2 separate regions of the Homo sapiens genome follow, and region 2 is linked to region 1. The links are contacts of gene promoters, found by promoter capture Hi-C in blood cells and fetal thymus (Javierre and others, 2016). All regions are on one chromosome and are shown on one strand. The core of a region is centred on a gene start or on the middle of the fragment in contact, and the rest is flanking DNA. Distances in the headings are between cores, read along the strand shown.

The links. Contacts are between HindIII fragments. The CHiCAGO score rates a contact against its expected background, and 5 or more counts as called.
Region 2: a fragment that was not itself captured here is called in contact with the fragment with the promoter of PIGH in region 1 in 3 of 17 cell types (megakaryocytes, naive CD4 T cells and total B cells); the score reaches 5.4 in megakaryocytes.

The regions. Positions count from the first base shown.
Region 1 is chr14:67,599,018-67,605,951 of GRCh38, forward strand. It overlaps PIGH (phosphatidylinositol glycan anchor biosynthesis class H), which reads right to left and starts at 1,251. Exons shown (of 4, transcript NM_004569.5): 1 at 1,007-1,251. The coding sequence starts at 1,186. It also overlaps a transcript of GPHN not described here. RefSeq lists an enhancer at 929-1,248. The HindIII fragment of the contact is 5,160 bases long and covers 1-2,267 here.
Region 2 is chr14:67,655,169-67,662,102 of GRCh38, forward strand. VTI1B (vesicle transport through interaction with t-SNAREs 1B) reads right to left here. Exons shown (of 6, transcript NM_006370.3): 3 at 4,563-4,754; 4 at 1,248-1,421. It also overlaps a transcript of GPHN not described here and the pseudogene RNA5SP386. Among named protein-coding and RNA genes, the nearest start is that of VTI1B, 16 kb to the right of the region's middle. The HindIII fragment of the contact is 1,868 bases long and covers 2,240-4,107 here.

The sequences.
Region 1 (6,934 bases), core at 1-2,500:
CATACGGTTTAGATAGTTAGATAGTTTCCTGCAATTAGGGCAGTCTTAATTCTGCATATTTCTATGCTAAATTACCATGCTCTGAAACACGCTTTGACAGCAAAAAAGCGAATGGATGCAGTAATGGAAACAATATCCAAGTTACAAAAATAAATAGCCCTGCTGTACTTAGCTCTGATTAGATCACTTCTGGGATAATACATTCAATTCAGGCACTACATATGAAACTAGAACTTATCCTGAAAATTAGGATAATTCTTTTTATTTGAGAGCTGTCACAAAGTTACTGCATTTAACCCTCACAATATCATGAAGCTGGTATGGCAGGCATGAATTCTATTTTAGAGATGTAGAAAATTGAGGCTCAGAGAAAACAGGAATGAATCTGGAAATTGAGCACAGCTATCACACACGTCCAAAATTTCATAAACCTTTAGAAAGTACTTGAAATTGGGGAAGGGTTTGGGAGGAGGGAGGGTTAAAAAACTCCCTTGAAAAACAGAGATTAGGAAGAACTATAACACTCTATCTATACACACAGATAAACACACACACTTGTGGAGGCAAAGACAGTTTGTGGAAGTCTACGTAAAGTATTGTTAGCAGTACTACTTTGAGGAGCAGAAGGGATGGACGAGGAAGACCCACTTAGTAGTTCCTTGAACTCTTGGAATTAAATTACTGCGCGCCTATACTACATAGAACACATGGCAGTTAAAGTTTTAGGCCGTCGCGCAAGAACTAGATGTATGCTGAGTGAACCCACGGAGCAGAGCACAGCCACGGAAGGGGAATGTACTATCCAGGAGCACACATTTCACTAAACGTCATTTAAAGAGCTGTCCAGCAGCGGAATATCGTCCCCAGAACCCGTGAGTTCCCGCCCTCCTGTCCTATCACTGTAGGAGGGGCCGACCAGAGGTCCGGGCTCGACCAAAGACCCCAAAGACCCTCCCAAAGCCGAACCCCCTCCTTCGAGCGCGGGGAGGGGCCGACTTGCCATTACCTCGCAGAGGGTGAAGAGTCCGTAGGCCGCCAGCCACACCGTGCAGGTGACAGCGGTGAGCGAACGCAGCGAGAGCCGAGGGCAGCTGAGGCAGAATTCCCGGCAGGACGGGGAGTAGTAGCGGCGCTGCAGCGCCAGGCGGCCGCCGCAGATATCCGAAAAGCTCCGCTCATCCTCCATGACGCCCCCACTCGGCCGCCCGCACCGCGCGGCGCTGCACTGCGCTCGCCGGCCCTGGCCGTCTCGCCCGCTCCAGACCCGCTTCCGGCAGCCGCGTCACCACGCCCCGCCCTAAGCCTGCGCAGCCTCAGTTGCGCGCCGAGAGCTCTGCTGGGGGCTGATGGTTGTGCGTTCTTCCGGGCCGGCCTTGACTGTCTTCGAAAAAACCTCGTCGGGGCAATAGTTAAGTGGAAAGATTAAAATCGTTTTTAGACCGGGCGCGTTGACTCAGGCCTGTAGTCCAGCACTGGGAGGCCAAGGCGGGAGGATCGCTTGAGCCTGGGAGGTCGAGGTTGCAGTGAGCGGAGATCATGCCCCTGCTCTCTAGCCTGTGCGAGAGAGCAAGACCCTGTCTCAAAACAAACCCACAGTTTGTTTTTGTTTTGAGACGGAATGGCGCGACGTCGGCTCACTGCAACCTGCTTCCCCCGGGTTCAAGCGATTCTCCTGCCTAAGCCTCCTGAGTAGCTGGGATTACAGGCGCGCGCCACCACGCCCTGCTGATTTTTGTATTTTTAGTAGAGACAGGTTTCACCATGTTGGCCAGGTTGGTCTCAAACTCCTGACCTCAGGTGATTCGCCCGCCTCGGCCTCCCGAAGTGCTGGGATTACAGGCGTGAGCCACCGCACCCAGCCCAAACCCACAGTTTTAATCATGCTTTTGCTTGGCAAGCCGATTTCTCTAAGCCAGAGTGAGCCGCAAGGAGAGCCCACGGGTATTCATTTCACTTACTCTTTTCCTGTGCCGGGTAGTTTGAGGTGCTTGAGGATGCAGCAGTGAACGATGTTGATGACAGTCTCTGCCCTCGGGCAGCTTCCTTTCTAGTAGGAGACAATATGGAAATAAGAGAGTATCGTTGGCAATACTATGCTGACTGGCAGGGATGGACTGAGGACTTTACATAGGGCAGTCAGGCGAAGTCTCTAAGTAAGAGGACACTGAGTTACAAGGGTGACGAGCCAGACAGGACTGAAGGAGCTCTGGAGGAGGAATTTGCCAGAAAGAAAGACCAGGAAAGGCAAACCCCTCGAAGTTGGAACAAGCTTGGCTTAATGAAATAATCAAAAGGCGAGAAAGGTTGGTGTGTGGGGAAAACAGTTGGAAGCTGGGGAGGCAGGTAGGGGTCAGATCCAAGAGGGTCTTGTAGGGTCTGGTAAGGAGTTTGGATTTCACTGCCTGGGAGTTCTGTCTCCCAAATGACTGCTTGGACCGTGGTAGACAGGCAAGACCTGGCTGGGAATTAAGCAGGAGCGGGAGATGCAGAAGAAATGGATAATAAAATTACTAAACTCATGAGTAATAGTGGCCTATGAGTTCCATTTTTACTTCTGATGTGGCCCAGGAGTGGCTATGTGGACTGTCAAAACACTTGTGATGGGCTGGGCATGGTGGCACATGCCTGTAATCTCAGCACTTTGGGAGGCTGAGGAGGGCAGATCACTTGGGTCAGGAGTTCAAGATCAGCCTGGCCAACATGGTGAAACCATCTCTACTAAAAATACAAAAAAATTACCTGGGCATGGTGGAGCATGCCTGTAATCCCAGCTGTTCGGGTGGCTGAGGCAGGAGAATCACTTGAACTTAGGAGTTCAAGACCAGCCTGGGCAACAGAGCAAGACTGTGTCTATATTCATTTAAAAAAAAAAAAAGATCCATGGCATAAAGGTCTCACCAGCTTTAAGTCTCTCTGATGAAAGGTTCCGTTTCTTCATCTTCATTCAGAATTTTATTTCCCTTTCTTTTTTCCTAAAGGATTTCTTCAAGCACTTCTTTATTTTTCTAGTTTTATTTCTGTGCCCCGAATCTGACAATTAATACACTCCTTTTATTAGTCCGTTTTCACACTGCTATAAAGAACTACCTGAGACTCGGTAATTTATAAAGAAAAGAGGTTTATTGACTCACAGTTCCACATGGCTGGCAAGGCCTCAGGAAACTTACAATAATGGTGGAAGGCAAAGGGGAAGCCAGGCATGTCTTACATGGCAGCAGGAGGGGAGTGGGGAAGTGCCACATTTTTAAACCGTCAGATCTCGTGAGAGAACTCACTCAGCATCACGAGACCAGCATGGGGGAAATCCGTCCCCATGATCCAATCACCTCCCACTGGGTCCCTCCCCTAACAAGTGGAGATTACAATTTGACATGAGATTTGGGTAGGCACAGAGAGCCGAACCATATCACCCCTTTTACTATTGCATATATCATGTGTTTTATAATTATAAAAGTGATATTTGCTTATTGTGGAAAATTTGAAAAATACAGAAAAGAAAAAAATGTAAACCACCCATATTTCCATCACTCAGAGATAAGTACTGTTAATGTTTTGGGGAAGCCTGTAGTCCTGGAGTTCTTAACTTGGGCTCCACGGATAGAATCAGTGTTTCATTTTTAGTTTCATTAACTTCTAATTAAAATTTAACATTTCTTTTGATTATGAATATGGGCAACAAACTAGTATTAGTAGAGCTTGTGATTTTTGTCACTGACAGAAATCACAGATATTTTCTTTTCACAATAATTGTTTCAAAATGTCATTTCTAGTCATTGCTACTTCAAAATTGCAGTAATTATTAAACCCATCACTAGCTATTATTATTTAATGTGTCAATAAAGAGAAACATATCACTGTAACACATTTTTAAAATATTTTGATAACCATATTTTAATTTAGTTGATTTTCTTAGAAGTCCTATGTATTTATACATTTTAAAGCATTATTATAATAAAGGGTCCATTCATTTCGCCAAACTTCCAGAGGGTCTACAATACAAAAGGTACCTGTACAGGCTAAGAAGTTTCTTTTCTTTTTCTTTCTTTCTGGTTTGTTTTGTTTTGTTTGAGGCAAGGTCTTGCTCTGTCACCGAAAGCGGAGTGCAGCAGTGGTACGGTCATGGCTCACTGCAGTCTCAACTTCCTGGGCTAAAGAGATCCTCCCACCTCAGCCCCTCAAGTATCTAGGGCTACAGGCACACTCTACCACATCAGGCTAATTTTTGCATATTTTGTAGAAATGGCATCTCACTATGTTTCCCAGGCTATTTTCAAACTCCTAGGCTCGGGTGATCCTTCGGCCTCAGCCTCCCAAAGAGTTGGGATTACAGGCATGAGTCACCATGCCCAGCAGGCTAAGAAGTTTCACAATTATAGAGTTATAGAAAGAAAAAGGCCAAATGTACTTTACTTAATTTTTTAAAAATACTCAATTATTAGGAATAAATACTGTGGTAGTCTAAGATCTCTAAAATCCTTTTTCTTTTTAGAGAGAGGGTGTTGCTCTGTTACTCAGGCTGCAGTGCAGTGGTATAATCATAACTCATTGTGACCTTGAATGCCTGGGTTGAAGCGTTCCTGTTGCCTTGGCCTCCTAAAGTGCTGGGATTGCAGGCATGAGCCACTGCACCCAGTCACTAAAATCCTTATTACTGCTTTGTGGGTTGTTTGTTTGTTTGAGACGGAGTTTTGCTCTTGTTACCCAGGCTGGAGTGCAATGGCACAATCTTGGCTCACCACAACCTCCGCATTCCAGGTTCAAGCGATTCTCCTGCTGAGGTCAGCCTCCCAAGTAGCTGGGATTACAGGCATGCGCCACCATGCCCAGCTAATTTTGTATTTTTAGTAGAGATGGGGTTTCTCCATGTTGGTCAGGCTGGTCTCAAACTCCTGACCTCAGGTGATCTGCCCGCCTCAACCTCTCAAAGTGCTGGGATTATAGGCGTGAGCCACCGCTCCCAGCCCTGCCCTTGTTTTTTGTTTTTGTTTTTTTTTTGAGACAGTCTTGCTCTGTCGCCTAGGCAAGAGTGCAGTAGCACAATCTCTACTCACTGCAACTTCCACCTCCTGGGTTCAAGCGATTCTTGTGCCTCAGCCTCCCAAGTAGCTGGGATTACAGGCGCAAAGGTTTTAGCTTTCTTACTGGGATGGATAGGCAAAGAATGTCTGTTCCATCTTTCAGAAATGGAAGTCTCCTCATCTGTCCATTTAAGGAAATGTTTTAATTGAGGTATATCCTCCAAGCAGTAAAACAGTCTGTGACTTACTTTTCCATACTCTAATGGTGTCTTTTGATGAACAGAGGTTTTAATTTTCATAAAGTCCAATTTATCAATCTTGTCTTTTATGGCTAGTGTTGTATAATATTTTGTCCTGTTTAGGAAGCTTTGCCTGTCTTGCGGGCATGGTGGCTCATGCCTATAATCCCAGCACTTTGAGAGGCTGAGCCAGGAAGATCGTTTGAGCTCAGGAGTTCCAGAACATGCTGGGCAACATAGCGAGACTCTGACTCTACCAAACAAAAAACAAAAAACAAAAAGCTGGGCATGGTGGCACAGCTACTAGGTACTAGGGAGGCTGAGGCAGAAGGGTTGCTTGAGCCCAGTAAGCCCAGCTTACTGTAGGAGGCTACAAAAAGCTGTGATCAAGCCACTGCATTCCAGCCTGGGTAACAGAGCGAGAAAAAACAAACAAAACAACAACAACAAAAAAAACTTTGCCTATCTTTTTTTTCCCTAGAAGCTTAATTATTTTACCTTTCATATTTAAGCCAATGATCCATTTTGAACTAATTTTTGTTTGTAGAGGTTAAGGGTCATTTTGTTTCCCAGCAGCACGTGTTGAAAAGACTACCCTTCCCCCCTAATTGAGATAGTGCCTTTGTTGTAAATAGGTGACCACAAATTTCTCGGTCTATTTCCACACTCTCTATTATGTTCTGTTGTTCTATTTTGTCTTCCCTTGTGCTAATAGCAACCTGTCTCAATTACTGTAGCTCTACAGTAGGTCTTGATTTCTCATACTGTTAAGTCTTTCAACTTTATACCTTTTCTTCAAAATTGTATTGGCTATTATAGGGTTTTTGTATTTTCACCAAAAATTTTGCTTGGATTGTACTGAATCTATCAATCAATCTAAGGGAGAATTGACATCTTAACTATGCCGCATGTTCCAATCCATGAACCTGGCATCTCTCCATTTATTGAAGTCTTCTCTAATTTCTCTCAGCAATGCTTAACAATTATTTGCACATCTTTCATTAGACCTCATTTGTAGGTATTTGATGTTTTCTGATATTCTCATAAATGATGTACATTAAAAATTTATTAACTCTCCCTTTTTATTTATTTATTTTTAGAGACACCATCTCACTCTGTCACCCAGGCTAGAGTCCATTGGCACAAATATCAGCTCACTATAACTTCAAATTCCTGGGCTCAAGGTATTCTCCCACCTTGGCCTCCCAAAGTGCTGGGCTTACAGGCATGAGCTATTGTACCCAGCCTTGCCACTCTCTTTTTAGTAAGATGTGTTTGGTATTTACCTAACATCAAATTGAAATTTTATAGAACAAAATACATCCATAATCCTGCCACCTAAGTATTTCCTCTTTACAAAAGCTCCTATGTCATATAAAATTTATATTAAATAAATTTATATGCTTCTCTCATATTAATTTTTTTTTATACATAGTCTCGCTTTGTTACCTAGGCTGGAGTGCAGTGGTGCAATCTTGGCTCACTGCAACCTCTGCCTCCTGGGATCAAGCAATCCTCCTGCCTCAGCCTCCCCAGTAGTTGGGACCACAGGTGCGCACCCCCATGTCTGGCTAATTTTTATATTTGTAGTAGAGACGAGGTTTTACCATGTTGCCCAGGCCGGTCTCAAGCAACCTGCCAGTCTCAAGCAACCTGCCTGCCTCGGCCTCCTAAAGT
Region 2 (6,934 bases), core at 1,924-4,423, 58 kb after region 1:
GTTTTTACAAAAAATTAAAACAATTAGCCAGGCACAGTAGCACATGCCTGTATCGCAGCTACACATGAGGATCACTTGAGCCCAGGAGTTTGAAGCTACAGTAAGTTAAAATTGCACTGCTGCACTCCAGCCTGGGTGACAGAGCAAGACCCTGTCTCTAAAAAACTAAAAAATTCCTATGTAGGTTAACTCATTTATGGAAAGGAAAAAATAAATGAGTTATTTTTCTGAGGCTCTCAGAGTGACAGCAGACTAGAGATCCCTGATATAGTCATCATTTGATTTAAATATTTGTTTTCTTTCCACAATGATCCAGCTTACCTTACTGGATAATCCTTAGACATTTTTTTCCCTATTACTTTTTTTTTTTTACTTTTACTTACATAACAGTAAAGGGTTATAGTCCAGGATTGAAGCATAATTTATAAATCTATAAACTGTGGTACTATTTTATGAAATCTGGAAAACAGCCTTGGCTCTAAATAACAGGATATAAGCAGATGATGTTTTCGTAAGAATAGCAGAATACCCTATTAGATGTGTGAGAAATTAAAATCTCAGATTGGAAGCTTTGAATCCTTAAGTGCCTTTTGACATATTATTTCTCTTGCCAAAGAGAGAATGCAGCCACTTTATCCTTATTAATTTCTGTAATCTTGTAAGTGTAGAAATCAGGTCCTTCCATCTTTTTTTCCCCTCACTGAAGCAAAAATTTCCAGTGATGTCTAAATCTTAGGGGTAAAATTGCTTCTAAGGGACATCTCTCAGCCAAGCAAACTAAAAATTGAGCAAAGCGGCCGGGCACAGTGGCTCACGCCTATAATCCTAGCACTTTGGGAGGCCGGAGCAGGTGGATCACCTGAAGTTAGGAGTTCGAGACCAGCCTGGCCAACATGGCGAAACCCCATCTCTACTAAAAATACAAACATTAGCTAGGCATGGTGGCGCATGCCTGTAATCCCAGCTACTCAGGAGGCTGAGGCAAGAGAATCGCTTGAACCCAGGATGCGGAGGTTGCAGCAAGTGGAGATCACGCCACTGCACTCCAGCCTGGGTGACACAGTGAGACTCTATCTCAAAAAAAAAAAAAAAATTAATAAATAAAAATTGAGAAAAGCATAAGAACTTAAAAAAGACTATTCCCTGAATACAGAACTGCTGTAGCTTTTGGCCTTAGTACGGTTTCCAGGTGCAGTGGCCCCCTAATTACCCCATACTTGCCCCTTTCCCTGTCTGCCCAGACTTACTCTACTCTTGGTACGTTCTAACTGGTCTCGTTGTTCCCCCAGCTCTTCTATGATTTCTGAGCCAATCTGGTCAGTCTCTGTGGCAATCCGATGAGAACGTTCAATACTTTGGGTGGCCCGGTTCAGGCTTTCAGTGCCCTGCAGAAGCATTGCCCTTTGAGACTGTAGCCGATTCTGAAAGAAGTATGGAAGAGAAATGTTAGACTTTTTCCATTATAAATTCATTGCCAGCATATTCCTCATCACCTTCCCCATGTTAGAAGGGATATAGTGAGCAATAATTTTCATTCCTTTTAAGACAGAACCAAAGAAGCTAATGATTCTTTTCAAGGTCACAGACTAAAGCAGGACCTGAAATCCAATCAATAGGATCACAATACCCCCACTCCACTGCCTTTTACACTTACGCGAGGCAAGGAAAGATGGATTAAAAATACTGGAGCACTTTCCCTGTGTTTGTAATGAATCTGAACTGGTCCATGTGCCTCCTGGACTATCAACTTCTGAAAGGTGGCAGCCCAGATGTGGGAGCTACCTGATAATGCATATAGCCTGTAACTTCGATAGTGCTATGGGCAAACCAACTAAACTCTGCAGCCCTAGAAAAAGGTTAATTCACTGAAGATTCCCACTAGACTGGTACTGAGGATTGACGGACCATGAATAAGCTATTCTGTTCTTCGTTTTAAGCCTCCAGCACCTGGTATTTCCAGGTGGTCTCCCATCCAAGTACTAACCTGGCCTGACTCACTTGGCTTCTGAGATCAGGCAGGTTCAGAGTGGTATTGCCTAGATGACTACATTCTTCTTTTTCAGCTTCTAAAGAAAGCATGTAGAAGTCTGAGACACTACCACATTCTGGAAAAAACGTATGTGGTTACCCTCTTGGTGAGCCCCAGAAAGAACTTCACCTAAGGTCAAACAAAAAACCTTGAGCCTGCCACACTGGGGGTGATTTGGTCTCAGGGAAATTAGTATCTGGGGCTTGAGCAAGCTTCCCCACCTGCCCTAATTTCTCAACTGCCCTAATTTTCTAAATCCCCACCGAAGTTTTACTCCACCTGTAATCCTAAATACAGACAGCAGGAAGAAAAAAGTAGCCTTGTCAGGCCAGAATTAACAACCACTGACAGAAACGGAGGCAGCTCCAAGTTCTTAGCTGTTCAAAGCACGCGCGCGCGTGCACACACACACACACACACACACACCCAAAATCAAAAGGGACCCAGCTCACAGAGGCCTAGTACAGAGCAAGTGACCACTGGCAGTAGGACCATCAAGGAGCCAAAAGATTGGCTCCCAGAACAGAAGTAGCAAGGAGCATTTTCTTTCTTTCTTTTTTTTTTTTTTTTTGAGACAGTCTCGCTCTGTCGCCCGGGCTGGAGTGGAGTGGCAAGATCTCAGCTCACTGCAGCCTCTGCCTCCCGGGCACAAGCAATTCTGCTGCCTCAGCCTCCCAAGTAACTGGGATTACAGGCACCCGCCACCACGCCCAGCTAATTTTTGTATTTTTAGTAGAGACAGGGTTTCACCATGTTGGCCAGGCTGGTCTCGAACTCCTGACCTCAGGTGATCCACCAGCCTCAGCCTCCCAAGGTGCTGGGATTACAGGCGTAAGCCACTGTGCCCGGCGCTCTGTAGCATTTTCACTTAATAAATGGCATACAGACCAGTAGACGAGGAAACCACTGAATGAGGTTCAAATAAAACCAGTTAGGTTAGCGCAAAGGAAGAAGGAAAAAGGTTTTCAAAATAAAAGATGCAGATTTTCAACTGAGTAGGCTAAAAAATGACTAAGAAAAGATCAGATCACATAAATGAACTTCAGACAGATTTGGAACAATACTTTTTCTGAAGGTATGGATACCTAAATTATGTTTTAATAATTTCTGAAACTCGCCAGGCGTGGTGGGTCATGCCTGTAATCCCAGCACTTTGGGAGGCCGAGACGGGTGGATCACAAGGTCAGGAGATGGAGATCATCCTGGCTAACACGGTGAAACCCCGTCTCTACTAAAAGTACAAAAAAAAATTAGCCGGGCGTGGTGGTGGGCGCCTGTAGTCCCAGCTACTTGGGAGGCTGAGGCAGGAGAATGGAGTGAACCCGGGAGGTGGAGCTTGCAGTGAGCCGAGATTGCGCCACTGCACTCCAGCCTGGGTGACAGAGCGAGACTCCGTCTCAAAAAAAATAATAATAATTTCTGAAACTCATAATTTTAAAGCAAAATTGTTTGGACTTCCTCCCCAACTTTGGCAACATGACTAAAGTCACTTTTACAACTCCCACTTTAACCAGCTCCACCTGCCTGCCTGTTTCCAGTCTCCCTTTACAAGTGATCTTCTGTCAGCTTCTAATCTGTGATAATCCCTCGCGCATCCATTTGAAAATTTTAAGTACTTCATTCTCAAGGGATCTAGTTTTGGCATCAGCAATGTCAAGCCAATATCATCCTGAATATCTCTTAAACTATAATCAGGATGCATCGTGAAACAGGATTTGTTTAAAATTGTAGTATGAGCCTTTCAGTCTGCACTGGTGGGCCCCTTTCCATTTCTCTGCCATGCTACTTGCCAGAGAATTTCTACTTTGTGTTGTGTTTGTGGAAGACAGACCAAATGCAGCACATTTAATCTTTCAGACGTTTTATTCCTTTAACGATCTAGCTGCTCTAGATGGTTTCAGAATACAGATGTTCAATTAGTCCAATTTTATAAATCAGAATCCTGAAAGCTAGAGAGGGAGTCTTGCTCACTTTCTATTACCACAGAATAAAATGATAAAAAGCTCCTTCTCGAGAAGCGCCCTGCATTGGCTACTGTATCTCAGTTGCTGGGCCATCTTGACATTAAGGTAAAGGAAAGCTTGGATTGATTTTGTAACAATATTCTGATAAATTAGAAACCTAACTGAATTTTCCAGGCATACCTGAGAAAGTGATTCTAAAATTTATATGAGAGAATAAAAAAGATCAAGGAGAAAAGAAATTAGATCAATGAGTCAGAATCCAGATAATAAGAATAGGTAACATTTACATTCTACTACATACAAAGCACTGTTTTTTTTTTATTATAAGACTGTATTATATTAAGGATAAAAAGAAATCTAAATATGCATATAGTTCGAAAGGCCTGCCTTAAATAGAGCAGATACCAAGGGGTAACAGGAACTGGATGCAGAAAAGAGGATAAGGGTGAAAAAAATGAAACAAGAGTCTAGTATACACTGATAACATGAAATACCCCAACAATATAGTTAATTTTTGTACCACAGGCCCTTAAAGGAAAAAAAAAACAAACAAAACAGCTAAAACTTACCATATGCTCATTCTCTACAGCATATATGCCATATTTCATGTCTCCTCGGCCTCCAGGTGTGGCTGTCAAAGGTGTGCTTCTCACCTCCCGATGGAGTTTAGCAAGGTCCTTCCGGTAGTTTCGAAGCTTAGACATCATGGGGTTTCGGAAAGACAGGGGTGCATAACGTAGCTCCTCCTCCATCTCTGCCAGCTGGGAAGGCAGAAAGTAGTGAGCAGATAGCCTGGTTCTTCCCTCACTCATTTGGAAATATGCCTAGTTTGGACTAATCAAACTACTTATTTATTTGGACTACACCAAGTAAATAACCATATGCTCCATGAGGCAGGGACCATGTCTGGCATGTTCCCCTCATTCTGAATGCCTTGCATAGTGCCCAGCAAGCACAGAGCAGGCATTCGAGTATATGAACTGAATGAATGAATGGAAAAACAGAAGTACTTTATAGCTTACTAAACACTTTTATATACATTCTCCATTTAATCCTCACAACAAATCAATAAGGTAGGAAATGCTCCATTTCATATATAAGACTTAAAGAAACCTCTGAAGATCGCACAAAAAGGAGTCCGGGCCAGGCACAGTGGCTCAAACCTGTAATCCTGGCACTTTGGGAAGCCGAGGCAGGAGGATCACTTGAGCACAGCCTGGGCAACATAGCAAGACCTCATCTCTATATATATATAAAAAATTAAACAGAAAAGGAGTCAGGATTCAAAATCTTCAAATTCTCTCAGCTCTCTTCAATATACCAAGTTTTTAGCCTGGTATGATTGAACATTGCCATCAAGAAGTGCTTTGAAGTCTACTGTATTAAAAATGATAGGGGTCTGGCATCAGGGTTCTTCCCTTCTCCTGCTCCTCTTTCTGAAAATCAATTAAGTTTGTCTCCATGTCAGAGAGAACAGGGGCCTACCCAGAGCAGTCTGCTTTAGGGGAATCAGACTTCCATTTTTCTGGGGTAAGTAAAATGTAACACCTGGACACATCCACAAGAGGCCCTAAATTATTTTCATCTGCCTGGAATGGGCAGCATAGGATTATTACTTTTGCTGAGTTTGGAGAAAACAAGTATCTGAGCATCAAACAAATCAGTAGCAGCTAGAAGATTTTAAAAATGCTACCAAGGTATTAACTGAAACAGGAGAATGGCTACAAACAGGTATCATGGATATGCCCAGCTGTACACAGGTATTAAGAAAAGCTCCCAGTACTCCCATTAGGAAGAAGATAGTTCCCACAGTCTAGTGGCCTGGTCTTTCTTAAAACAGATGCAAAACAGAGAAAAGGATGCAGATGTGCTTCCTTCTCAGAACTTCATTGGGATAAGTGGGAAATTGAAACACTGATCTTCAACAAGCAAGAAGGAAGTTCGCTGGCCAAAAGAGAATTTTTTCTCCATCTGCTCTCGGGTAGCAAATACAGGGCCAACTATTTCTGCGGAGTACTAGCAGCGACCAGAATTTTGGCCCCAATCTTAATGAGTTTGCTGAAGCTAGAGTATGATGAGATGGAGTCAAAGGACTCTTGCTTCTATAGGGCTAGAGCAAAAAAAAAAAAAAAAAAAAAGTTTTTTTTTTTTAAAGAAAAGCCACAGGTGAAGAGAAGCAGTTGTTAAACTGTTCAGTAAACGGAACCAACTTCTGACAAACTTTGGGTACCAACTGAGACTCATGCATGTCTTGCCTGAGGTACCAACTCCAGCTCCTATGTTGTCTCTTAAGACAGAAAGGGACATGGTTAGAATTACCTCTAAACTACATTTTCTGTGACAGTAGGTTTAACAAAGAACAGTAACCTTTTTTTTTTTTTTTTTTTTTTGAGGCAGGTCTCACTCTGTCACCCAGACTGGAGTGCAGTGGTGCAACTGTGGCTAACCACATGCTTGACCTCCCAGGCTGAAGTGATCTCCCACCTCAGCCTCCTGAGTAGCTGGGTCCAGAGGCATGCACCACCAAACCTCGGTAATTTTTTTTTGTTTGGTAGAGATGGGGGGTCTCCCTATGTCGCCCAGGCTGGTCTTGAACTTCTGGCCTCAAGTGATCCTCCCACCTTGGCATCTCAAAGTGTTGGGATTGCAAGCGTGAGCCACCGCACTGACCAGTAACCTATCTTAATGGCCAGCTCTTAAAAACAGATTTTAGGCCAGGCACGGTGGCTCATGCCTTGTAATCCCTGTACTTTGGGAGGCCGAGGCGGGCAGATCATGAGGTCAGGAGATCGAGACCATCCTGGCTAACACGGTGAAACCCCATCTCTACTGAAAATACAAAAAAACAGCCAGGTGTGGTGGCGCCCACCTGTATTCCCAGCTACTTGGGAGGCTGAGGCAGGAGAATGGTGTGAACCCGGGAGGTGGAGCTTGCAGTGAG